Regions from separate parts of the Homo sapiens genome. Here regions 2, 3 and 4 are each linked to region 1. Evidence: promoter capture Hi-C in 16 types of primary human blood cells and fetal thymus (Javierre and others, 2016). All regions are on one chromosome and are shown on one strand. Each heading gives the region's core, a stretch centred on a gene start or on the middle of the fragment in contact. The rest is flanking DNA. Distances are from core to core; before and after follow the strand shown.

Region 1 (6,525 bases), core at 1,412-3,911:
CATTATAATTTATTGCAGGACAGGGGAAGTAAAGCATTAAAACGTTGTTGTCATACTTAATTTGCATGATGTCAGTTCCAGGTAAAAATATGGGCTGGGGATAGATCTCAAAAAGATTCTATTGAGGATACTATGACAGACTGCTAATCATGATGGTGATTATGGCAGGGCAAGAATACTGGAGAAGCAGAGAACTGGGGAGCAATTATCTATAGCTGGTCCCAGCTTCTAAAATGAAAATACTAAACTTGCCTCTAGTTTTATAAATTTAGACTTCCCTAGTGATTTTCACCTACCCTTTCTGGATAAGAGAAGTCATGACCCCTTTTGCAACTCTATAATCTCCTCTCATACTTTTATGTATCCTGTAGCTCCTGATGTCTACTATCTTTTTTTTTTTTTTTTTTTAAGAGATAGGGTCTCACTCTGTTGCCCAAACTAGAGTGCAGTCATAGCTCATTTCAGCTTTGAACTCCTGGGCTGAAGCAATCCTCCCACCTCAGCTTCCCCAGTAGTTGGGACTACAGGCACGCACTGCCACACTCAGCTAAATTTTTTTTTTTTTTTTTTAAGAGATGGGGTATCACTGTGTTGCCCAGGCTGGTCTAGAACTCCTGGCCTCAAGCGACCCGACCACCTTGGCCTCCCAGGTGTTGGGATTATAGGCATGAGCCACTGTGCCTCGCCTCATTCTTTGCTGACCCTGCTTCCTAGCCCAGGAGCATCTCCACCTATGTAACCCTCCCCATCCTTTTGAATGCCTCTGCCAAGCCTTTACAGTGTTTTTGAAAAGACTCTGATGAAGCTTTTACTGTAACCATGTCTTTAATTTTTAGACCCCATACACTGAAATGATATTTGTTCATTCTTTTCATATCTCTACATATGCAACTTAATGCTATTTGTTTACTAACAATGGTCAACTTATTTTCCTACTGAAATATAAGCTTCTAGAGAAAAAGAGTGCTTCTGAACTTTTGTAAATTCACAGATCTAATAAATATTTGGTGATATGGACAACGCTATGCAATTTTTGGGAAGTGTAATCAAATTTAACTCAAAACCAACCCAGTAATCAAGTTCAACAGGATAATAATAAAAAGGCAATGGGCAAGATGTGAGACTTTAGTTCTAGTCCAAGATTTACTTGTAACTTAAGTGAGCAAGTCACTTAAGTATACTGTTTTAGTTTCTCTAACTAAAATATAGAAATAACAATCCTTATCTCCTCTTTCTCATTTTGAGTGCAAAAAAGAAAACAGACTACTAAGAATAACTAACTCTAACATCATACATTAACGTGGCATCAGGATAAAAAAGAACACTTAAAAATATTCTCTTGCAACCACTTCTCTCCTTCTCCATCTTTCAGCCTTAAAAGTATGCTGGCTTGGAACACACACCAGAACTGCAGATGGATTTCCGACGGATGAATCACCTTCAGCAACCCCAGCAAGTTCTCATTAAATGTTTACCCTAAAGTAAGATTTTATGATCAAATCTAGTGTATCGTTAGTTTTTGGAAGTAGAATAATCACTGCAGGGTTTTACACTAGTATATATTAACTTGGGATTCCGTGATCCATGGATCTCTCCAAAGGATGTGCATATGTGCAAATGTGTTGATGGAGGGGGCAAGATTACTTTGCTTAGGTTATCAAAGGGGTCCTTGTGCCCCCCAAATTAAGAACTAATGGCTTAGAATATACCAACAAAGTATTTCCCATGCATAAACCCTGCAAGATAAACACTGATAAAGAACCAACACACAAAGATCTTCCCAATGAGCTTCAAGAAAAGCTTCCAACTGAGTGATCACTGCTGAACTTAAAGATAATGACAAAAATAACGGAGTTGCCACGGGTGTGGGGATTTTGAAGCTATGCCCCTCCTCCTCACCCCGACCTTGGAGAACTATATATACAGCATGAGAGGAAGGAAGTTTTGGCAATACCTCACATTCGTATACCACTTTAATTTACAGAACAGAGCCTTCGTTTGATTCTCAAGATAATCTTAAAAAAAAAAGAAAAAGATGATTTCAAGGTATTATCAGTAAGCCCATTTTACAGATGGGGAAACTAAAGCTCAAGAGACGGTTAGGTGACTTAGGACAATCAAAAATGACTAGTCAAACCAATGATCTAGCCAATTTCTAGTGCCGGTGAGTGGGAAGAGTGGTGAAGACCCTAAGACATATACCCCGTGGGCGCCTAAAGCACTAAGCTCACGACGCTGGGAAAGCGGGGCCGAGAAGGAGGGACTCGGGGCGACCCGACAGCGCCAGACAGGGCGGCCGGCGCCGAGGGCCGCTACCTCGGTGCGGCGGTACAGCGTGGCTTCCCCGAAGGCGCCGCGGCCCAGGACGCGGATGGGGATGTAGTGCAGTTCCTCCTGCTCCGCCGCGCCGCCGCCGGCTCGCGGCCCCTGACTGGCGCTAGGCCCCGGACTCGAGTCCCCGCAACCCCCGGACTCGCTCCCAAAGTCCGAGTTGATGGAATCGCAGTGTCGCTCGTACTCGCCCAGCACCGACATGGCGGCGGCCGCGGGCCTTGGGGACCAGCCTGCGTATGCCCGGAGGCCCTGGCCGCGCTGCGTCCCGCTCGCTTCAGATGCCGGCCCGCGGATCCGTCAGCCCAGCAACCCCGCGAAGCTCGATGGTGGCTCCTGCCCCCCGACCCGGAAACAGTTCTCTGTGTTTCCGGCCTGGCTGAGTTTCCTCCGCCTTTGCTTACCCTCTTGGCTAGTCTAGCGGCCAAGGCTTCCCGCTTTCGGGGAAGGCCTGCAAAGTGAGGCCTCGGGCTAGGGTTGGCGGGCGCGTGGTGGGAACCGCGTGGAACCGAAGGGCTCCCACGGGAACAAGGGCATCACTGACGGTACGGCCTCTCGGGTCTATTGACCCTTCTCTGCCTCCCCGGTCCGGACTCATACAACTTGGAGGCCCAGAGGTCGTCCAGTCTCATCTTGACGTCAGGTCTGTGACAAGAGGGTGATTGGGGAAGCATTCCCAGTGTACACCTTCTTCCCCATTCCAACGTTGGACAGCATTCTTTTTTAGAGAGATAGTATAGTAAAGATAATATGGCCGGGCAAGGTGGCTCACGCCTGTAATCTCAGCATGTTAGGAAGCCGAGGCGGGCGGATCACCTGAGGTCAGGCGTTTGAGACCAGCCTGACCAACTGGTGAAACCCCGTCTCTATAAAATACAAAAATTAGCCAGGCGTGGTGGCAGGCACCTGTAATCCCAGCTACTCCAGAGGCTGAGGCAGGTGAATCACTTGAACCCGGAAGGAGGAGGTTGCAGCGAGCCGAGATCGCGCACTACACTCCAGCCTGGATAACAGAGCGAGACTTTGTCTCAAAAAAAAAAAAAATAATAATAATATAGACAGCCTAAATGTCTGCCTCCGGTCATCTCGGTCCCTGGGCCGAGTTCTTTCTCCCAGGGCCATCCTAAGTCCCTCCCTCTTCTACACAACTCCAAAAATATTTTAAGTCAACTCTCCTGACACTTTCCTTCTCCCCCGTCTCTTTTTCCAGATTCAATTTATTCTATGTGTTTTTCCAGATATTTGACCATATGATATCATGAAACATTCTTTGAGCACTTGGTGCCACACACTGTTTGGGAACAGGAAATCTGCAATAATGTTCTCCCTACCGTCAAGTAGGAAAACAGCAATACGGTGAACAATAGGTGTTCCATCAGTTATGTGACCTTGGGCAATTATGTGACCTTGGGCAACTTCTCATCTCCAAGCTTGTTTTGTTGTGAGAATGTGGTCTACATCACAGACATAACAGCTAACATTTATTGAGTGTTATGTTCTGGGTACTATGCTAAAGGTTTTTTACGTATTATCTCACATTATTATGTATTATCCTATGTATTATGTATTATGTATTATCCTAACATTCCCATTTTACAGAAACAGAGGTACCTAAGTAACCTGCTTAATGTGACAGACCTAGTAAGAGGGAGCTGGGAAGTTGAACCCAGCAATCTGAAAAAGCAGGATGTGATGGGGCTAAGAGAAAGCCATGTGCCTAGCCGGGCGTGGTGGCTCACACTTGTAATCCCAGCACTTTGGGAGGGCCGATCACTTGAAGCCTGGAGTTCGAGTTCAGCCTGGCCAACATGGTGAAACCCCGTGTCCACTAAAAATACAAAAATTAGCCAGGCGTGCACACACCTGTAATCCCAGCTACTTGGGACGCTGAGGCACAAGAATTGCTTGAACTGGGGAGGCGGAGGTTGCGGTGAGCCAAGATCATGCCACTGCACTCGAGCCTGGGCAACAGAGTGAGAACCTGTCTCAAATACATAAAAATACATTGTGTCATATCGATTTGTGAAAAGTTCCTACTTTAAGAGAGCTTACATGTAACAGAAAACCACCAGGCAATTAAAACAGTTTCTATAAGGGCTATTAAAGTGCAAGATTCTAGAGAGGCATTTAGGAGTGGCATCTGTCCAAGCCAAACTTGCTGTGTGAGTGCAGGAATATACAAAATGTTAAGTCTAAACAAAGTAGAGAGATCATTTCAGGTAGAGGCCATTCCATCTACATCCTCCTATTAATTAGAAGGCACTTTGAGGATAGGTATTGCCTCTTGTTTATCTAGATAAACTCCAGAGTTTAGTTTGGCTTAAATCTGTTAATTCTATTAACTTAATTCTGTTATTCTCGATTAACTCTGTTAAACAGAAAAGATGCTCAATAAATTGTTTCTCAGTTGAATGGGAAAAAACCAATTACTTAAAATTGGGAATGCTGACTTTCAAAGAGGCTGAATAGATTTCAGCCTAAGCTTAAAAATTCATTTTTTTCTGGCACCTTTGCAACGAGGAACTAGTTTTCTATAACGTGGTTGGCCTGAAACTGAATTGTTCTAATGATAATGCATAGATACTACAAGCCTAGAAGAAACATGTCCTATTATAGAGCAGAGACATTCCTGCTGAATTCTTCATTATATTGGATATAACTGAAACTAATTGTCTTACCTTTGAATATTTATAAGTTCAAAAATAGTCAACATTTATTCTAATGGTATAACTTTTTTTTTTTTTTTGGAGACAGTCTCACTCTGTCACTCAGGATGGAGTGCAGTGGCATGATCTCAGCACACTGCAGCCTCCACCTCCCAAGTTCAAGTGATTCTCATGCCTCAGTCTCCTGAGTAGCTGGGATTACAAGCGTCCGCCACCATGCCCAGCTAATTTTTGTATTTTTAGTAGAGAGGGCATTCTGCCATGTTGGCCAGGCTGGTTCTCGAACTCCTGACCTCAAGTGATTGGCCTGCTAAAGTGTTGGGATTACAGGTGTGAGCCACTGCACCTGGCCAAGGTGTAAAATTTTAAAGCGCCTTTGGTTGAAACCAAACTATTTCCACATTGTACTTTAACAAGTGAATGGTTAGAATGCTATTTTGCATTAGTTTCCAATTTGTGAATGGCAAATTCCCAGGGGCCATAGAGTTACTGTCAAGATGAAAGAATCTACCAAAGACCAACCCAAGTTTATACCCTTCACTGTCTGCCACGGTAGCCATTAGCTACATATAGCTACTCAACACTTGAATTGTGGCTAGTCTAATTTTAAGCTATAGATGCGGTATAGCTTGAAATGCACACTGGATTTTCAAGATTTTATATGAAAAATGGAATGCAAAACATCTCATTAACCATTTTTATATTAACTATATGTTGAAATAATATTTTGGGTATATTAGGTTAAATACACTACTAAAAATAATTTTCGGCTGGGCACAGTGGCTGATGCCTATAATTCCAGCACTTTGGGAGGCCAAGGTGAGCAGACCACGAGGTCAGGAGTTCGAGACCATCCTGGCCAACATGGTGAAACCCCATCTCTACTAAAAATACAAAAATTACCTGGGCGTGGTGGCATGTGCCTGTAATCCCAGCTACTCGGGAGGCTGGAGAATCAGCAAATTTTACCTGTTTTTTACTTCTTTAATGTGATACTAGAAAATTTAAAATTATACATGCAGCTCAACATTTTATGAGACACCACTGCAGCAGACTAAATAAATGATTTATAAAGCATGTATTGGGCCGGGCACGGTGGCTCACGCCTGTAATCCCAGCACTTTGGGAGGCTGAGGTGGGTGGATCACGAGGTTGGGAGTTCAAGACCAGCCTGGCCAACATAATGAAACTCCATCTCTACTAAAAATACAAAATTAGCTGGGCGTGCTGGTACATGCCTGTAATCCCAGCTACTCGGGAGGCTGAGGCAGGAGAATTGCTTGAACCCGGAAGGCGGAGGTTGTGGTGAGCCGAGATCATGCCATTGTACTCCAGCCTGGGCAACAAGAGTGAACTCCGTCTCAAAAAAAAAAAAAAAGAAAAGAAAAAAAAATTATACCCCAATAATGGGAACCACTACTTTACACACTATGGATTCATAATAAAATTTATTTGAGGGAGAATGGAGATAAGAGGATAAATAAGAGGCCAGCCAGTGGGTGTGCAAAGCACTTCATATTGGCTCTTG
Region 2 (6,525 bases), core at 2,286-4,785, 280 kb before region 1:
TATTCAAGAAGAAAGTAACTTTGTGAATAAATAATGCGTTCATAAAGGTATAAAACTCAGGAGGTTCAAGTGTCCCATCCATCTTAACCCTCAGCCTCCCACGACTCCATCTGTAGAGGCAACCAGTGTTGAGAAAAATTGTGTGGATAAGCATTAAGTATTAATGTTTTTACCTGGTTTTTGTACACACACTACCTTATTTTTCCTTTACCAGTATGTTTTAGAGGTCATTCAGATCATATATAAAATATTCACATTTTCTCTCCCCCCCACCTCCTTCTTTGGTTTTCCAAAGGTACCTTCATAATATAAAGAGGTTTACTGAAAAATTTCAGAAATTGTTTCAGCTGCATCTCTGTTCTTTTCGTGGCATGGAATACATGGTATGGGTATATTTGTATACAATTCTTTCATATATGTAGGTTGGTGTAACCACCCTCCACCTTTCTCCTAGTCCCCCAACCCCACCATCTCTAACCCTTGGCAGCCACTAATCTGGTCTCCATTTTTATAATCTTGTCATTTAAAGAATGTTATAAATATGAAGTCATACAGTATGTAACCTTTTGGGATTGGCATTTTGGCTTTTTTCACTCAGCGTAATTTTCTTGAGATTCATTTAAGTTGTTATGTGTGTCAATAGCTTATTCCTTTTTATTGCTGAGTAGCTTTCCAACTCATTCTCTTTTGCAGCTGCAGAATGTTTTATGTCTTTACTATCATTTTAACTTACAGAGTCTCTATTAATGGGTATTCATGCTCTCGTTTACTGTTATAAATTATGAATTTCACATATACTCAGTCATTCTGCAGCTTCCTGTACTTGCCTGATTTCTAGCAATGAAGGAAAATACCGATGGCACCATTTCATAGACATACTCAAAGGATGACAAGCACTTAAGGACCAGCACAGCACAGCGGTGAACTCTCAAGACAGTATGACAGTAATGAGATGACGAAGGCACATCTTGTTTCCTGGAAAATTCTGCATGATAGGAGACTGACAAAGCAAAGAACCATGATGTGTCTTAGAGAACCAGAATGGTCAGAGACTCTGATGATCCCCTGGTCCACACGTGACTGAGAGTTAATACCTTAGGTCACTGTTCTCAGAACCTGGATATTTATATGCACGTGCACCTCAGTGACTGATCCATTCTCAGTTTTCAGGTCCATTGCTTTCACATTTGAAATAGTCAAGGAGCATCTTTATGACTGGGGCTGAGCTTCTGCATTCATGTACAGCCCTCTGCCTGCCAGCAGTGCCTTGCATTTGTGATCCTACAAAGAGCCTGTGGACTTAATGGTTTACTGTATAGGGAAAGGCTTGACTTTGTGTCTTCTACTTAAGAAGCTTGAACTTTTTACCAAATATTCGTACTCCTTTTCCTGAAAATACTGATCTAGGCTACAGATCCATCTCTTAACCATATTTGAAAAATTGAAATAATATCTTCTGCCATAACTTGAAATTCCACTCTCAGATCTGTTATTTCTGACAGTGAGTTTGTATTTCTCAAGTAGATATGTCTGATGCTTATTTCTTTTACAGCATCTGGCTCAGTGCATGGCTCATATATCTGTAGAGTGAGTAAATACAGGGAATGTTTCCTATGTGTATGGCAAGGGTCACAGACTCAGGCAGGTAACAGATGAGCAAGGCAGAGGGTGGAGACTGGTAAACTAGACAACTAGATAGGTCAGGTCAATCGGGGGCAGCACCTGCTCAGCCATAGCAGATTGTGGCCATGTGGGGATATAGGTCTCATATTGCCAGATTTCCTGGGTTTTCAAGAAAAAGTGAAAAATCTGGATTTTTATGTGAGATCTTCCAGTATTTCAGCATCAGGTTCTTTTTGTTTGTGAGTGCTTTGGCCCTCACAGCCTGCCTGCCACATCTGACTTGTGGACTGCCGGCTTGAAACCTTTGATATTTAGAGAAGTGGTTAGACCTTAGAGTTGGTTCTGGTGAGATCCTTCTTGTTTTACAGATGAGGTTTCTGAGACCGAAAGAAGGGAAGTGACTTGCTCAAAGTCTCACTGTTACTCAGTGGCAAAACAAGACTAGAATTTGGGTTTCCTGGTCCATAACCTGTCACTTTCTTTTTTCTTAACTACAATACCTCCTTTATGAAGACCTTCATAAATTCTAGGATGGTGAATTCTCCTTTATTTTGTGTGTCGTGTGCAAGTGGACATGTGTGTATTTACTAAACTCTGTGGACCTGGAAATACATTCTGATATGACTATCAGGAACAATGTGATTACTTCTGAAACCAACTTCCTTAAACTCTCATGTATAAGGTAGCTATACACCTAGGATCCCTCTTAAACACTTACTACTTGGTTGGGTAATTCTCATGAATAACAGAAGCTTGAAAATTAACAGAGTATTGGATTCAGTGATTGTACAAGAGCAGTGGAGTTTTCTCCACAAAGTAGAGAAAATCATTTGTGTATTGTTATGCAAATAGCTTACAGAACTATTAATAATTTTGTTTTCTTTAATTTGTAATTTCTTATGTAACTAGTCCATTTGCTTTCACCCAGTGATGAGCATCTTACCTGCTTCACTCGGTAGCGCTCCATTCCTAATCTTTTTAAGGACAAATTCATCAACTTGGCGTTAAAGTCTATCAGTAACATGATCCCAGCTACTTCTCCAGATTCCTCTTGAGCTGTCCTTACTACATGTGCACTACACTGCAGCCACACTGTGTGACTTATTCCCTGGGGTTTCTATTGTTTCTGCCTTGCTTTTCTCATCCTTTAGATATTAGCATTATTGGCTGGGCACAGTGGTTCACACTTGTAATCCTAGCACTTTGGGAAGCTGAGGCAGGCAGATCACTTGAGCCCAGGAATTAGAGACCAGCCTGGGCAACAAAAATGTCGGCTGCAGTGAGCTGATACTGCTGTCCACCCTGGGCAACAGGGTGTGAGACCTCATCTCAAAAAAAAAAAAAAAAAAAAAAAGCCAGGCACGGTGGCTCATGCCTGTAATCCCAGCATTTTGAGAGGCCGAGGCAGGTGGATCATGCAAGGTCAGGAGTTTGAGACCAGCCTGGACAACATGGTGAAACCCCATCTCTACTAAAAATATAAAAATTTTCAGCTACTCGGGAGGCTGAGCCAGGAGAATCACTTGAACCCAGGAGGCAGTGACCCAAGATTACACCACTGCACTCCAACCTGGGTGACAGAGCAAGACTCCATCTCAAAAAAAAGATCGGTGGTGGGAGAAACTGTCCAAAGGCCCAGCTCACATGGTACTGCGTCCCTGAATCTGTTCCTCATCTTGTTCCCTCCCAGCTCTCACAGGCTTTGTTTGTACATGTCCTACCATCTTCTCTTAATTTGCCTTTCTAGTAGAGTAACTTATATATCCTTCCCCCCCATCCTTACCCACTTACATACAAGCTCCTAGAAGGTGAGAATTATGTTTTACTCATCTTCCATCCTTGTAACACATAATATGCAGTATCTGTTACATATAGTTGCTACTCAAGAAGTATATTTAGAATTGATGACCTGGTGATTTTTAAGTATAAAATTAATTCATGTAGGTTCATATATGTATAATTTATAAAACCAATTCTTGTGTTTGCTTTTTCCCTACCTCTGTATCTTCCAGCTGGTGGCATATCAATACTTAAGGCGTAGCACATTCAAATGCCTTCAAAGGACAGGAAGATAAGTGTAAATGAGAGAATTGGCCAGTAATTTCATAATATATTTAGTTTTATTCTTTCAACAGAAACTTACTTTGTTTGCAGATTAGACATGTGGGAATATTCTTCACTCTTATAGAAAAATACCCTGTTTCTCATTCTCAAAACTTTTGGCACTCTCTTAGTTTTCCCACCTTTGGTAGAGACATAAGTACAGTATTATTTTTTCTTTACTGTGAGAAAAACAACAGCAGAAGCAGAATAAAACAGGGTACTTGGCCCTCTCAGCCTCAGGGTTCAGGAAGCAGTAGGGTATGGTGGAGGCTGGGATGGTGCAGAGTGCTTGTCCTGTCTCAGGGGACAATTCTCCAGCCAGTGGTTGGAATGAAGAAAGACAGACCCAATGTTACTAGATGAAGATAAAGTGGAAGTCTGCATTTTTATGTGAAATAGTCACAGTAGAAACAAATCACATCTGGAAGCCACATGTTACCAATAGGCTGTCATTTTGGGACTTTTCTGACATGCTCTAAAGGATGATGACAAGTCTGAAAGACAGTTATGGCAAAGAAGATATTTGTAAGAAAGGAAACATCAGGTTTTATTACATATAAATATTTTGAGCAGCACCTTTTTACTAGTATTTTGGAAAAGCATTTCTGTCTTCATTGAGCGAAGTGGCAATACATATGTAATATACTGATGCTGAATTTGCGGTGGGTTGATTTTTGTCCATTGTTGGCTTTCACATGGAAGCATGAATATTGTCTCCCCGCTACCCCTTTTGAGTGACATCCTTCCAGTACCTCCATTTCTCAAGTTGCAGGTAAGCACCTTGTGTATATACAGTTAAATAGTGGGCACACATCTATCCCAGGAAAAGAAGACAGTGAGAATTCCCTTTGGTTAAGTGGAGCAGTTGAATGGCCACTATACCTGGATGCAAATTTGATCCGAATTTTCTGCTCTAAACCCTCCACTGCTTTCTGCTGTTTCCACTGAGGAAAGAGGATGTGTGTCATTAAAGCTTTGTTGGGACCTGTCACAGTCAAGGTGGGTATAATTATGTTTAATTTATTGAAGTGTTTCTGGGCATCGTCTTTTTCAAATTCATATATTCTATCCAGAAGATGTGAATTCATTTTCATTATTAAAAAAATAAAATATTACAGATAAAGCTCAACACTCCCCCCTCCCCCTTAAGCACAAATACCTTGAATCTTAGAGGTAATTACTATTATTTTGGAGTGTGGCTTTTCCAAACCTTTTTGTGTGTATTTGTATACATATGTACTTGCCTATAAAAATACAGTTTTACTGTTTTTTACATGACTGATATTCTTTACATACTGTTCTGCAGACCTACTATGTCTTGGATACACACATGCATGTATATATGTATATATAGGTAAATATATATATAGGTAGATATAAATACATGCATTCATGTTTGTGTATATTCCATGATATGTGTATAATGGCTTACTTTTTCCTTTTTTTGTGAGTTTTTCACTGTCATACCAGTGTTGCATTGAACATCCTTGTAAATGCCTTTTGCAGGCTTATTTTCAAAAATCTTCCCTGGGGAAGATACAGAAGAATTGAATTACTGGGCTACAGGGAAACCATTTCTCTTTTTATTTTCTCCTAATAATTATCTACATGTGTGTTTTAGAAACAGTCTTAATTTAATATTGGGGGTTTCAAAATTTTTTTTCTCATTTTAAAATTCCAGTTTTATATGCTGTACTCATTTGAATTCTGCCTTTTGAATCTAGATTTGGAATTGATATGGATAAGCAAAATAGGTTCTAAGTGGTAGTGATAGTTCATAACCAGTTTGCTTTTGGAATAGGTGCTGTTTCAATCTTGGGGAAGGTAAAATGTCAATTGAGGAAATAATCTTTAATCATGAAGTTCTTTTTTCCAAGTCATTCTCTGCTCCCTTTGGAATTATGACAACTTGGATCCAGAGGTGCTGTGAAAATATTTTCTTACATCATACCTCTTCTTTTCATACAAGTTTGAATGATCCCGGAAAATACAGTTTTTGTATTTTCAAAAAAAAAAATGAAGTCTGGAACACCCACTTTTCTTAATAGGATCTAGTTTATTTGTTTAGGTAGTAAAGCTTTTATTAAAAGAACATACTTTGAGGATTTTCTGTTTCTCACCTGAGCCTTCTGTATTCACTAGATATGAAACTGAGTGCATTGGCAGGGCCTCTACTAGACCTGAAAGGCAGCATTCCCAGTGTTTATTTTCAGGGGCCAGAGGGAAGGCTATTGACTGACATTGGAGGCCTTAACCCCTGGATTGGTAAGGTTCTGGTGGAATGATTGCTTAGATTCCATAAACACTCGAATAGATGATTACTCCTTTCTGTATGTATGCATTTTTGGAAGAATGATAAAATATGAAAAGTGTGAAGAGTTGTGCACTCAAGTGGTGGTTTTGACCTGGGGAGCTTTTAAAACTCCCAAAGCTCAGGCTACACCTCATAGCAATTAAATCAGAATCTAGGAGTGGGACCCAGGCCTTGGTAATTTTTTAAAAGGCCACCAGGTCATTCTAATATGCAGCCAACTTTGAGAACTGGTGGGGTAAAGGGGATTTTAAATTTTATTTCATCTCTAGCTGATGATAGGTTCATTAAGCAAAACTTTCGAAGGCCCTGGTCTGTTGGTTAACTTTGCAGGTGTGGAAGATACAGTTGTTGGAAGGATACTTGTTAATGAAACTCTTTAAATGTGCAAAAGAAAATCCACCTAGGCTGAAAGAGTTAATGCGGTTTCCAAAGGTGCTTGATAGCCAAGAAACAGCTTAGGCACAGGGACAGTCTGGCTTCTTGGG
Region 3 (6,525 bases), core at 2,314-4,813, 270 kb after region 1:
AGAGGGGACAAGGCCCAGGGAAGCACTGTCCAACAGAAATATAGTGTGAGCCATAAATGTAACTTAAAATTTTCTAGTAGTAACATTTTAAAAAGTAAAAAGCATATGTTAACCCAATATAGCTAAACCATTATTATTTCAACATGTAATTAATATAATTTTTTTAAGAGAGACAGAGTCTTGCTCTGTTGCCCAGGCTGGAGTACAGTGGCGTGATCATAGCTCATTGCAGCCTCAACCTCCTGGCTTCAGGTGATCCTCCCACCTCAGTCTCCCAAGTACCTTGGACTATGGGTACACATCACTGTGCCAGCTAATTTTTTTTTTTAGAAATGGTATCTTGTTATGTTGCCCAACTTTAAGAGACAAGCGAGACGTCATCTCTAAAAAAAAAAAAAAAAAAAAAAGAGAGAGAGAGAGAGAGAAATGCATTTCTCTTATGTAAATGCTTAGGTAGGTCTTGAGGGCTACTGATATGGCTCTTTGTGCAATATTTAACCCAAGTTCCTTCTATCTGTTGGTCCACCATGCATGGGCTATATTTCCAAATTCCACAACAGTCCAAGATGACTGCTCCAGCTCCAGCCAGTGCGACCACCTTCCAGCCTGCAGAAAAGGAAAAGGGAAGAAGGACACACTACCACCTTTTCATGGCACTTCCAAAAAGTTACACACATATTACTTTTATTTACATCCATTTGTCGGGATTTAGTCATATGGCCCTATCTAGCTGCAAGGGAGGCTGAGAAATGTACTCTGTGTTCTAGGTGACCAAGTCGCTGGCTAAAATTCAGGGATTCTGTGACTAAGGAAGAAAATAGCGAGGAAGCAACTGATAGTGTTGGTCTCAGAGACCAAACCATGCTAATGAAATGCAGATTCTCTGGTAAACCAGAAGGCCAAGTTATTCAAGAACAGTAAGACTATAATTGTCAGCCAGATGAGAGTGCCTGAGTTGGCTGACCATTTCAATCTCTTCCCAGTAGGCTAGTCTAAATGGTTAGAAGATTAATGGATCGGACTATGAGAGCCTGATAGGTCCCTTTCCATTTCAGGACCTACAAACCTGCCAGGAGAACTAAAACATTCCTGCCAGCCTGGGAGGGAGCCCTTTTTCTGGGATGATGCTAGAGATGCTTGGACAAACTCTGGCCCCTCAACATTTCTTTACCTGAACCCATCCTAGCTTTATACACTACAATTCTACTTATATTTGTTACATTTTAGATGTTGGGAAGAGATTTTGAAGACATACTAGCTCTTTGTTGTGAACTTGGGATTTGCTATTGTCTCATCAGCAGTGTTCATTAACTTGATAAACATTTATTGAGCACCTACTTTTTGCCAGGTATTGCATTATGCTAGGAGTGAATAAGAACCTGTCCTTAAGTTGACTGCAGTATCTAAAGAATAGGGAAAGTGATGGGCAAGCATTTGAGAAATGAGTAGGCATTCACTGAGCAAGAGGAATGAAAAGCCATCCCAGGTGAAGGGAAGGCATGTGCAAAGGCTTGGGAGACACCAAAGAACATGACGTGTTTGGGAAAAAGAAGTAGCTGGGTGGGGCTTGTCGGGAGGAGATGCTGGAAGGGTGGCCTCTTCAGCATCCATTCTCTCTCAGTAACTACCCCATTTTCCTTGGGGTATCCACCCTCCCTACACTTCCCATATTTTTTGGAGGAAGTCGACTCCACCCTGGCCTAGGCTTGGGGTAAATAGCCCCAGTATAGACTAATCAGCAAAATCCCTTCTTGCCTGCAGATGGGCAAATGACCCAATTCTGACCTGAGAGACTGGAGAAGACTTTGCTGGCAGGTTCAGGGAAAGAAGCTCTCTCCCTTTCTCCTTCTATACAGCATGGAGCATAGGTGTGAAAACAGGAATTGTGGCAGCCGTTTTCTCACCATGAGAAAAGCCTGCCTGAGCATGAAGACAACACCATGGAGGGCAGAGAGGAAAACACCAAGAAGAAGAAGGGGTTTTGATGACATTGTGGTGCTATTGAGTCAAACCTACACTGAAGCCTCCTTGAGCCCTCGGCTTTAGGCAGCTTGGGGCTGCAATGTGAAGGACCTTGGGGCTTAGCTTTTATTCTGGGGCAATGGGAAACAATAGACAGCTTCAAGGAGGGGGGCAAGCCCACTGGACCTGAATTGTAGGAAGTTGTCTGCAGTGCTGAGTGCAAAGAGCCTGGGCCAAAGCCAGAAATGAGGACCTGAGCCAAGACAGGAGAAGAGGAAAGAGTCTGAGAGCCACTTGGGTGACAGAAGCCAGACTAACTGGATTAAGAGGGCATGAGGAAGAGGGTGTGTGCTTTAGGAAGAGGCTAAAACTCTTAGCCTGACTACATGAATGGAGAAACTCCCCTTCCCCCTTCTTTTGCCTCTATCACTGTCCCCCTGGGAAATCATGTCCACTGCCAAACCCTGTATTCTCCTCTTCTGCAGATTCATGCCTCTGATTACAATTCTTTATGGGCATGCCTGGTCCTTTGGAGCAGGGACCATGCCTCGTCATCTTCACATCCCCAGGGACTAGCCTGGCACATGGTTGGCACCGGGTCAAGGCTGACTTGGATTGAGTTCTCGCTGAGCTAGGCATGAGCTGCACCCTCCCCCTGCCCCCAGGGCTTAGTCATCTGTTTCATAAGCAGCTTCCAAAAGCTGCAGCCCCAATACCCAGCTTCCTTGTTGTTGGCAGGTGTTGGCAGCCCTGAGTGCCAGAACGCCAGGGAGCCAGCCACTGGGAACATGCTAGGGTGGTGAGCAGGAGCCAACTAATCAGGGCTCATATACATTTACGAGAGGCGTGTGTGTGCTCCCCAGGAGAGCTGTAACGACACTCCCTTTCCAGGAAACACAAACCAGGCCTCTTTCCTTTCTTTTTTCTCACCTGTCCTGTCTTGTGGCCAGAAGCACATTCATTGGCTTTCCATGCTTCTAAAATAAATCAAATTGGGGGCCACACCCTTCCAAGCTACTTTAGGTTTGCTCCGTGGAAGCTTTAACCCCTTATCATCCCACCAGGCCTGAAATGCTTGGGTTCCAATTTACAAAAATATTAACTTTTTATGTCCTTTCAGAAGAAGGATCTCAGTTTTCCTGATGTCTGCTCCCCTGCCCTGGAATTTCTCCCTCTGCTCATAATTCATCCCAAGGATGTTGACTTCTGTGTTTTGGGATGGTCAGGGGCTAAGTGGCATGGAGGGCAAATAGATTAACCTTTTACCAACTTTCCAAAGCCCTTCCTCCTTGTTCTTTTTTGTTTTTGTTTTTTTGAGATGGAGTCTCACTCTGTCACCCAGGCTGGAGTGCAGCAGCATGATCTCATCTCATTGCAACTTCCGCCTCCCAGGTTCAAGTGATTCTCCTGCCTCAGCCTCCTGAGTAGCTGGGACTACAGGCGCATGCCACCACGCCCAGATAATTTCTGTATTTTTAGTAGAGATGGGGTTTTGCCATGTTGGCCAGGCTGGTCTCAAACTCCTGACCTCATGATCCACCCACCTCGGCCTACCAAAGTGCTGAGATTACAGGCGTGAGCCACTGCGCCTGGCCCTTCCTTGTTCTTTTTATCTCGGCCTCCTCTGGGCTTTTGGAAGGCCTCTTCTTTCTCTAACCCCAAGGTTTTCCTCATTACTCCTCCAAGATTTCAAGGTTTTCCTCTTGTCAGTTTCGTTATGGAAACTCCTGGTTCCCCGCTAGCCTGCGCTCCTCAGTAGGGCTCTGAAACTCAGCTCTCATCTGCCCCAGTGTTATGTTGTTTTTTTCCCTGTCGCTATGGCAGGGATTAAGACAGGAGCCAGGGAAGAAGGGCGGGGGGAGGAAAGTGAGCACGGAAAGGCAGAAGAACGATGGGAGAGAGCCTGATTGGAGGGTGTCAGAGCTGAAGGAAACCGACAGAGAAATGGGCTGAGTGTGTCAAGGGAAGGAAGAGGGATTTGTTTTTCGTTGTTCTATTTTGGTTTTGGTTTTATAGTTTGGATTTGTTTCCAGAGATGAAGAGAAATGTACTTAGTGCTGAATCTCCCCCAACATAGAGTCATGGCTAAAGAAATCCCTCTCGCATCGTCAGTAATCCAGGGGCAATCTTTAGATCCCAGATGGAATAGGGAAAACTCTCAAAAAAGCTTCCAGTTATTCTCAATTCACTTTATGGACAAGCCTGCCCAGTCAGTGTGACAAAGTGACCCAGTACCACTCTGAGACCAGGCAAGCCCTGCCCTTTGGAGATCCCTTCCCCGCAGGCCTCCCTTTGTCCCTGGGGCGAGGGGGTCCTCAGGGCTGAGGGTGATGCCCAGACAGAGTCTATGCCCACACCCACCCCTTCCAGCCCATGCTCCATACTCAGGACCCCAGAATCTCTGCCCGAATGGCCCAAGCCCACTTCCAGGTTCTGGGTGGGCCTGTTTCCATGGTCCACCCTCTCAAGGTAGCCTGTGCAGCCAGTGGCCAAGGGATAGCTGCTTGGGACTGGGCAGTGGGCAGAACCCGGAGGTGCAGGCTGGTGTCAAGCATGTGCACTTGAGAAGGGGCCCTGGCTGAGGGTTGGAACAAACGGCAGGCAGGCCCTGAGCGGGGCTGCCTTTCCTTCTGCTGCTGCATTCTGGTCTGAAGAGTCTGAGGATTCTAAAGTCATACCTGGCCTTCCAGAATGTTATGGAGGTTCATTTGTGAAGACAGGAGAAGAAGACAGGTTTTATTGAATAATTTCTTATCTTGACTTATAGCTTTTAAATATTTAGATACATGGTATGTGAATTGTTGTTTGAATTCTTGCCCTGGTCCCACAAACCTGTGATAAAATGAAGATTTGCGTGATGGAAACGACTCTATTTCCAAATCTCTTCTGCTCCATGTTCCAGTCTTTCTCTGCCAAATGCCTTCATTTGAATGCTCTCATCCTGTGTGAGTCTGTAAATCAGCCTACCACTGAGTAGAAGAAATGGTAGTGGCCATTTTGTGTTCTCAATTTATTTTCACACACACACACACACATATATATATATGTGGTCTAGCTTCTGAACCCCCTTTCTGTGTTTGGGGAGTATCCCACTCACACACACACACTTTTCTGAGCCATGGTGGGGAACAGAGCTCACATCCCAGAACACAAAGCAAACATTGCTAAGAACTTGTCGTGGCCAACACTACCAGTGGCTTCCCCAGATGTCCACTCTCCCCTTCTCCTTTAATAAGAGAACCCTCAATGTTTAGCTGGGCACATGGCTGCCTGGGCCAAAGACTACATTTCCCAGACTCTTTTCTGCCAGATGTTGCCAAGCGACCAAGTTTCAACCATTGAGACAGAAGTGATATGGGCAATTTCCAGGAAGTGGTTGTAAAGGGAGGGAGGGGGCCTGCTTCTTACCCTTTTCTCCTTCCTGATATCTGGAATGTGGACTTGATGGCAGGCTCCCAAGCAGCCTTATTGGTCCATAAGGCAGTGTGCAAAGGCAGTGCAGAAGGAGCTCCAGAGTGGTCTCGCTCCAACTTTGTTTGCCTTCAAACTTTTTTACATAGAGAAAAAAAAAAACTCTTTCTTTTTTTTTTTTTTTTTTTTTTGAGAAAGGGGTCTCGCTTTTTTGCCTAGGCTGGAGTGTGGTGGCGTGATCATAACTCACTGCAGCCTCGATCTCCCAGGCTCAAGTGATCCTCCCACCCCAGCCTCTTGAGTAGCTGGGACTACAGGCGTGCACCACCACACCTGGCTAATTTTTGTATTTTTGCAAAGATAGGGTCTTGCCGTGTTGCCTAGGCTGATCTCAAGCTCCTGGGCTCAAGTGATCCACCTGCCTTGGCCTCCCAGGGTGCTGGGATTACAGATGTGAGCCGCCATGCCTGGCCAAAAAATAAAGTTCTATGTTGTTTAGACCATAATTATTTTGAGTCTTCTATCTAAATAGATAGAACTCAAGCCAAAATAACACATTTGTCTTCCCAGACTCTCTTGTAGCTAGGTCACAGCCTGTAACCAGGCTCCACGAAGGGCAGGCTCTCTGGTCCAGGCAGCCTCAGCAATAGGCTCGAGACCTGGGCAGCAGTGGTTGCCCCCGGTGTTCAGTACCAGGGGCATGTGTGAGGCAAGATGAGGTGCCCAGTGCTTGGTGGCAGTGGTGGCTCCTTACTGAACAGGTTCTGCCATGTGATTTTATGATTTTGGGCACTGTTTTTGGCTATATGGCCTCAACCCTGGTCCTCCAGTCCACCTGATGATTTTGTGAATATCCAACATCCTGTTAATAAATTCCCATTCTGCTTACATCTGCCAGAGTTGGTCAGTAACCCAGTCTTAGCCCCTGTCAAACTACTTTTTAACAATAAGATTTTACCAAGATTGTTGGTTTTGCCATTAGATGAGTCCATGGAATAATCTCAAACTCAACGTGAGGCATGAATTCCATTTAAAGTCAGACAGTCCTAACAATTCTTGTTTCTGAGGGTGCTGTTGATGGGGGCAAAATTGGGTTCTTTGGAATATTCAGTGTCTCTTGGCATAGGGATATGTGCCATCTACGAGGTGAAA
Region 4 (6,525 bases), core at 1,565-4,064, 270 kb before region 1:
TCAGGGAGCAGTTTATTAGCAACTTTGAATTGTGGAATGAATTGAAATCAAAATCAGAGGTTGCTTCAGGGATCAACCAACCAACTGAATATGAGGGAAAGAAAAGCTTGAATGATGTAGACCAAAAGTATTAACAGCCCCTAACCCAACACCCAAAGTAAAAGAGGCCCTCAGAAACCTTTTATGGGAACAGGGGAGGTCTGGTCCCAACAATTAGTTTGATTTTCCTTATTGTCACACTTCATCTGTATGTACTTTCACTCAGTTTTGAACTATAGCAATTTGAACATAAATTTGACAGTGTCTGACACTCTGTCTCTCTCTCCCTCTCTATATATATTTTTTGTTGTTTGTTTGTTTGTTTTTGTGTGTTTTTTTTTTTTTGAGATGTAGTCTCGCTTTGTCGCCCAGGCTGGAGTGCAGTGGCGTGATCTCTGTTCACTGCAACATCCACCTCCTGGGTTCAAGTGATTCTCCTGCCTCAGCCTCCGAGTAGCTGGGATTACAGGCGCACGCCACCACGCCAGCTAGTTTTTGTATTTTTAGTAGACATGGGGTTTTACCATGTTGGTCAGGCTGGTCTCGAACTCCTGACCTCAGGTCATCTGCCCACCTCGGCCTCCCAAAGTGCTGGGATTAGAGGCATGAGCCACTGTGCCTGGCCTATATTTTATTTTTCATAGTGTCCCCAGCCAAGGCAGAAAACTAGCCAAAAAGGCCACTAACTAGTGTTTCTGTTTCCCTCTACTTTTCCTGCCCATGTGTTTCTGTTTTGGGGATTATCTACAGCTCAGTAGCTTAAGAATTTAGACAGCCAGCCTTTCTAGCCTAAAGTTATTCACGGTTATTTGGGTAGAGTCTCAGCCCAGAACTGGACATTGCTTCCATCAGCAACACTAAGGGGAGCTTGAAGTGCACATATGATGACCTAGGACTTGCCTCACACCAGGCAAAACACACTGCCTCTTGGGAGTTCTGCAGAAGCTGCCATTTAGTTGAGTGACTTTACCTGAACATCAGGAAAATAAACCTTCAGGAGGTTGGAGCTGGGATATCGTGTGAAGAAAAACATTAGTTTGGCCTTCTTCAAGTGACCAGGGTTTAGACCCTCCTGGATTTATCTCAGTGTCAAGGAAAATGAACACTTTAAAATGCCAGTTTATCAATTAACTAGTGAATTCCTTGTTCCTGTGGTTTCTATTTGATTTCATTTTGTTTTTCTGATTGGAATTGTGTATTTGCTCCATTTTTCTGTCTCTGGAAACTCTGGTCAAATAAGCTGGATGACATATGTGCACAGTTAAGTCACAGAATGTAAAAATCATCTCGATGTGGAAAAGTTATGTAGCATAGATGATGTCAAATACAGGTTGGTGTATTTTGTGTGTGTGTGTGTGTGTGTGTGTGTGTGTGGTGTCTTAGATGTCAAATACAGGTTGGTGTATTGTGTGTGTGTGTGTGTGTGTGTGTGTGTGTGTGTGTGTGTGTGGTGTCCAAGTGGGATGGGAAGAGATGGCAATTCTATCCCAGATAAACCATTTCAAAACCCCAAGCAGAGATTTACTTCCCCTCTCTGCCTCAGTTTCCTCAGCTGTAAAACGAGAAGAGTAAACTAGGTGGTCCCCATTCTGGCTGTCACTCTTATCATTGCCTTCACAGTGTTGCCTTTATAACCAGCAAACATCTAAGCAGGCTGAATACCAGCTCATATTTTGCTCTTGCTCAAGAAGCTTGAATGGTTGGGTGGTACCCACTCTCCATTTGCCTGGCAGAACTATCCCTCATCTTTCAGGTCTCAGCTCAGAAGCTCCCACCTCTGTTAAACCCTTCCTTGCCAAATTAGGCCTTCCTTACCCTGGGCTATGAAGACTCTTTGTACAAACTGTTGCAGCGATGACCTTATTGGAATTTTTACTGTATGTTTGTCTCGTCTAGACTGTGAGCTCCTTGAGAGTGAGGACCTTATCTTTTCATCTTTGTGCCTAGCCCAGTGCTAGGAACATAGCAGGTGCTCAATAAATATTTGTTGTGTGAAGGAGTAAGTGAGTGAACGGTCAACCTTAATCCATACACATATATGGAAATTAGATTCCAAACTATACCTCACTCTGGGAACAGACAGATTCCTTCCCCTTTAACAAGAGTCGGAGAATTGTGATGTGACTGCCTAGCACTAGGGCAGGACGGAAATGAAAAAAAGATTTACACAAATACGCTTTGCATTTTTAGGGACAGTCCTTAGGCTGGGTGAGAAGCATTACACAGAGTAACCTGGGATCTCAGATCCGAGAGCTGTAGCTTAAGACAGTGAAGACTTCCACATAGGATGAATCTGTTTAACCAAAAGAAACCAGACCAACTGACTATGGTTATAGGTGGCCCAGGCACCTAGTTGCTGCACAGGAGATCCCTCCCTGCTGCCCCATCAGCCCCTACTTACCCTTCCTACAGATCCACAAATGCTGTGGAGAGAATCCTGGATTGGGATTCCAAAGACCCAGTTTCAGACACTGATTTTGCCATCTATTAGCTGTGTGACCTTGGGCAAGCCACTTAACTGCTCTGAGCCTCATTGCTAAGATGTGGAGTATAGTGGTTAAAGCTTGTACTTGGCCATCAGATCCCGGGTTTAAATCCTGGTTGCTCATTAGTGTGTCTTGGGACTTTGGACGAGTTAGCTCCCTTCTCTGTCTCTGCTTCTCGGATACCCGATCTTAGAGTGGATGCTTGAGAACGGTGAGATAATACAGGTCTAAACCCGTTATCTGAAATGCTGAGCCAAATGGAGTTTGGATTTCAGAATTTGTTAGCTTATAAAGATAATACGATGTGTGTACCACACATTAATTAACATCCACAGCTGAGACAGTGTATAATCCAATACATTAACATTTCTGCAGCAGAACGTATGACTATACTAAGTGGGATAAAATCTATTAATAGCCTCCAATCAGTGCAAGCCAGGTTTTGCTACCAAAAAAAAAAGATTGCATCATTCTTAGGGGGGGAAAATCATAGGGCCTGTCAAAGCTTTATGGGTTTCAGAATTGTAGCTAAGTGGTGGTGGGCACATATGTGTGAAGTGCTGGTAGCAATGCCTGCCACCGAGAAGGTGTTCTGTCAATGCTCCCCTCGTGATCTTCACATCTGCCCTACCTATGTCACAGGATGTCATGTGAATGTGAACGTTCTTTTTATGCTGTAAAGCAGCTTGCTCTCAGGTGGCTTTCATGGCCCACAGGAATAAATCTCTTGGAATATAGGCAGCAGGAATGAGGGAAGAGTTGAGGGGCCAGGGTGCTGCTAGGGGGTCCCAAGTCATTCCAAAGATAGTCAAGTACTTCACCCATGCAGCCAGTCCTGGCTTAGGTATTTCTTAGGATAGGCCCCAAACCTCCAGAAGCTCTCTGAGCCCAATCCCCAATTTAGGGGGCAGGAACAGGCACATGTAGGTGCTCAACAAATAGCAAATTCTGGGAGACTGAGGTGTTTTTGCAGCTGTCTGAATTTAATGGAGAGTCAACTAGTGGTTATCAAAGGCCCAGACAGGTAGCCTTTCTTATAAAGAAAATCTGTCTATGGTGGAATCTCTGCCTCCAAGAGTGGTGGCAAGTGAAGTGTTCTCAGCATTGGTTTTACAGTTGCTCGCTAACTTCCAGGAAAGCTTTGGGGTGTTTCCAACACTTTTGACCGGCAGGGGGCGCTCATGGCATTTAGGACACAAAGGCAGGTTCTGGCATGGTAATGAGCTGGTCCCACCCCATCCTGCTGCCCTCACAGTAGTTGCCAGGCAAAGGACACGACTGTTCCCACCTGGATATGCAACTCCATAGACTCATCAGCTTCTGGAGATTCCCCTCAAAGCTGCACACAAGAAGCAGCAGCGTGAGCACAGCTAGCTTAAAAAGCAACATCCAAAATATATTCTCAAGAACTTAAGTTCTGCAAGATGCTTGTTAGAAGTGGTCATATGGGTTTGGGGCTGTGTACATTCTCCTCTTAGAGCTTCCATTTACTCATGTTAAAGGCTCTGAGAATTCCTGCAGAAAAGAAACTATCTCAGTATTTCCCCAAGGTACTTTTTCTTCTAACTCAACAATTATTAATATCCCGAGGGTTACTCTGGGAAATACATTAAGAGAGTAGTGTCTACTTAAGGGTTGCAAAGATGATGCAATAAGATCCAGAGCCCTGCAGATCAGCCTGGGCCACTCAGGCCTCCTCATGGGGAGCCTCCTCTCCCTTCATATGCCCAGCCCCTAGTCTCCAGGCACTCCATTGCACCTTGGAAGTTGTTCCTTAAACTGGAGACCTCTGGCCGTTTCCAGCCACCTCTCTGGGTTTAATCCCCGAGGAAAACTCCTTTTCCATTTGGCCCAGAAGTTTCTTGTTCCTCATCTGCTCCCCAGGAATTATCTACACAATATAGGATTTTTGCTTGTAGAGCTATGGGGTTGGGGAGGCCATACCTTAGATGACGTCATTCCTTTGACCCTCTCCTCCTAAGTTTATGGGTGGCTGACAACCAAATTATGGATTCTTTCTTCCTTAGGGTATTCATTGTATTTCAGAAGCCTATTTGAGTCTCAAAACAAAACCCTTTTAGACCCAAAGGAATAAGTCAAGTGGCAGAACCCGATGGGTCATAGAAGAAGCTAAGTGAACCTTCCCAGGTCCTTAAATTCCAGAATGTGGTCACCACTATAAGCTGAAGGCCCAGAGCAACATTAAGAAGACCCTGAGTGATCTGTCCCCAGCTCCTCTTCAACTTTTAGTTTTCTTGTTTCTCTGCACAGTGTCAATGGTATTTTAAATTATTTATTGAAACATTGTCTCTCTCTGTTGCCCAGCTGGAGTGCAGTGGTGCAATCATAGCTCACTGTAACCTCGAACTCCCGGGCTCAAGCAATCCTCCTGCCTCAGCCTCCTGAGTAGGACTACAGGCATGGGCCATCATGTGCAGATAATTTTTTATTTTTAGAGATGGGGTCTAGCTATGTTGTGCAGGCTAGTCTTGAACACCTGTCCTCAAGTAATCCTCCCACCTTGGCCTCCCAAAGCACTGGGATTACAAGCATGAGCCACACTGCACCTGGCCAACAATGAGAACTTCAATTGCTATTAAAGGATATGTGGACCAAAGAGAAAGGCAGTGCCTCCATGACAGCATGCAGGCCTCTCTGTTCCATCTTCACCGAGGGAAGAAGGGGTAGACTTTCCAGATGGGCAGAGGTGAAAGGCAAGGGACACTGCTGCTGGCTCAGGACCAATGGTTGCGGCTTAGTAGTTCTCCAAGGTCGTAGGGCAGGCTCTGAGGAGGGGTGCCTCTGGGAAGATGAGTCCTGGGGAGGACTGCTACTCCAATGGCCATTGTTGTATCTATGACCCAGTAGCTGGCTAAGAATCTGATTTTCCTGGATGTGGGAAGGTGCAGTCAAGGGAAAGTTTGCTGGGGGATCCTGACAGGGTTTGGGGGTCATTCTTGGAGGGATAGGGTACCTAGGAGAATCTAGACGCTTGGCCAGTGATAAATTTCCTACTGGGACCCCAGCTTGTAGCTGGACCCTCCTGGGCAAGGCAGCCAAAGCAAGTGGATCTTTACAGGCCCCTCCCACAGGAGGTGAGGGCTCGCTTCTACCCTCTGCCACCTGCCCCTGGAAGCTTCTGCCCAGCTGAGTCAGGTGGCCTGGTGGATCCAATAGTACCTTTTGTAATACCGAGTCCACAGCCTGGGACACTGCCCTGGTCAGCTCTTTCCTCAGAATCTCTAGTGAAGCTGGTGCTCCAGAAGGAAGGAAACTGGGCTTCTCAGACTCTTGGTGTTTTTCTGCCCCAGAGAGGTCCTTGCTGGTACCTTGCTGGTGGTCACCGTCCACAACCCAGGGGCGAGGCCCACAGCCATTCCCCTGCTTTGCACTCAGAGGGCCTTTCCCCGTGCCACAGCCTCCTGGCCCCTGAGCTGTGTCCCTGGGCTTGGCAGCCTGTAGGATGTGCTCTTGCAGATGTCTTAGCTGTTGCTTCAGCAGATGAAGTTGTTCTCTCACACGAGGGCCCCCCTTCCTGTTGCCCTGGTCCCAGGCAGGGGCTGGCATCAGGAGGCCTTGCGGTGTGGGAAGGTTCTGCTTCCTCTTCCTCTCTCGGGCCTTCTTTGGGCAGCGTGGGCTGACCCCAGCTTGCGCATTGCCTGGCACCAGAGGATTCGGGGAGAGACACATGCCTCGGACAATGGTCTCCACTCTGGCCCTCTTTGCCTGGATGTGCTCATCACCAAACCATTCGGGGTCTGTAGGGCTGGAGCTGGGGACCTGACTCCAGGGAAACGGGGAGTCTCTATCCAGCTCTGGAGGGGATGAGCTTCTCTCGCCTTCCGTACAAGCTTCTGCTAGGTGGGAGCAGATCTGGGGCTGAGGAGAAAGCAAGATGGAGTTTGGATCCATCCCAGGCACTTGTTCAGGGCTTCAGGAATTCCTCCTCCTTATTTCCTCAGCTGGAAGTGCACCCAGAATGCGCTGGGCTTCCTCCTCT

What was found. Contacts are between HindIII fragments. The CHiCAGO score rates a contact against its expected background, and 5 or more counts as called.
Region 2: a contact is called between a fragment that was not itself captured here and the fragment with the promoter of NEK9 in region 1, in 1 of 17 cell types (naive CD4 T cells). The highest score is 5.1, in naive CD4 T cells.
Region 3: a contact is called between a fragment that was not itself captured here and the fragment with the promoter of NEK9 in region 1, in 3 of 17 cell types (monocytes, M0 macrophages and neutrophils). The highest score is 15.3, in monocytes.
Region 4: a contact is called between a fragment that was not itself captured here and the fragment with the promoter of NEK9 in region 1, in 1 of 17 cell types (erythroblasts). The highest score is 6.7, in erythroblasts.

What each region holds. Positions count from the first base shown.
Region 1 is chr14:75,124,387-75,130,911 of GRCh38, forward strand. NEK9 (NIMA related kinase 9) reads right to left here and starts at 2,662. Exons shown (of 22, transcript NM_033116.6): 1 at 2,317-2,662. The coding sequence starts at 2,535. RefSeq lists enhancers at 2,526-2,575, 2,586-2,715. The HindIII fragment of the contact is 1,961 bases long and covers 1,799-3,759 here.
Region 2 is chr14:74,839,763-74,846,287 of GRCh38, forward strand. It overlaps LOC105370569 (a long non-coding RNA gene), which reads left to right. Exons shown (of 2, transcript XR_944033.3): 1 at 1-383; 2 at 839-2,257. Among named protein-coding and RNA genes, the nearest start is that of PROX2, 33 kb to the right of the region's middle. RefSeq lists an enhancer at 2,140-2,299. The HindIII fragment of the contact is 2,324 bases long and covers 2,374-4,697 here.
Region 3 is chr14:75,397,803-75,404,327 of GRCh38, forward strand. No RefSeq gene overlaps it. Among named protein-coding and RNA genes, the nearest start is that of JDP2-AS1, 27 kb to the right of the region's middle. The HindIII fragment of the contact is 1,128 bases long and covers 3,000-4,127 here.
Region 4 is chr14:74,857,398-74,863,922 of GRCh38, forward strand. PROX2 (prospero homeobox 2) reads right to left here. Exons shown (of 6, transcript NM_001243007.2): 3 at 5,133-6,525; 4 at 1,010-1,117. The coding sequence starts at 6,437. LOC124903348 (a long non-coding RNA gene) reads left to right here and starts at 1,109. Exons shown (of 2, transcript XR_007064269.1): 1 at 1,109-1,369; 2 at 1,436-2,038. The HindIII fragment of the contact is 428 bases long and covers 2,601-3,028 here.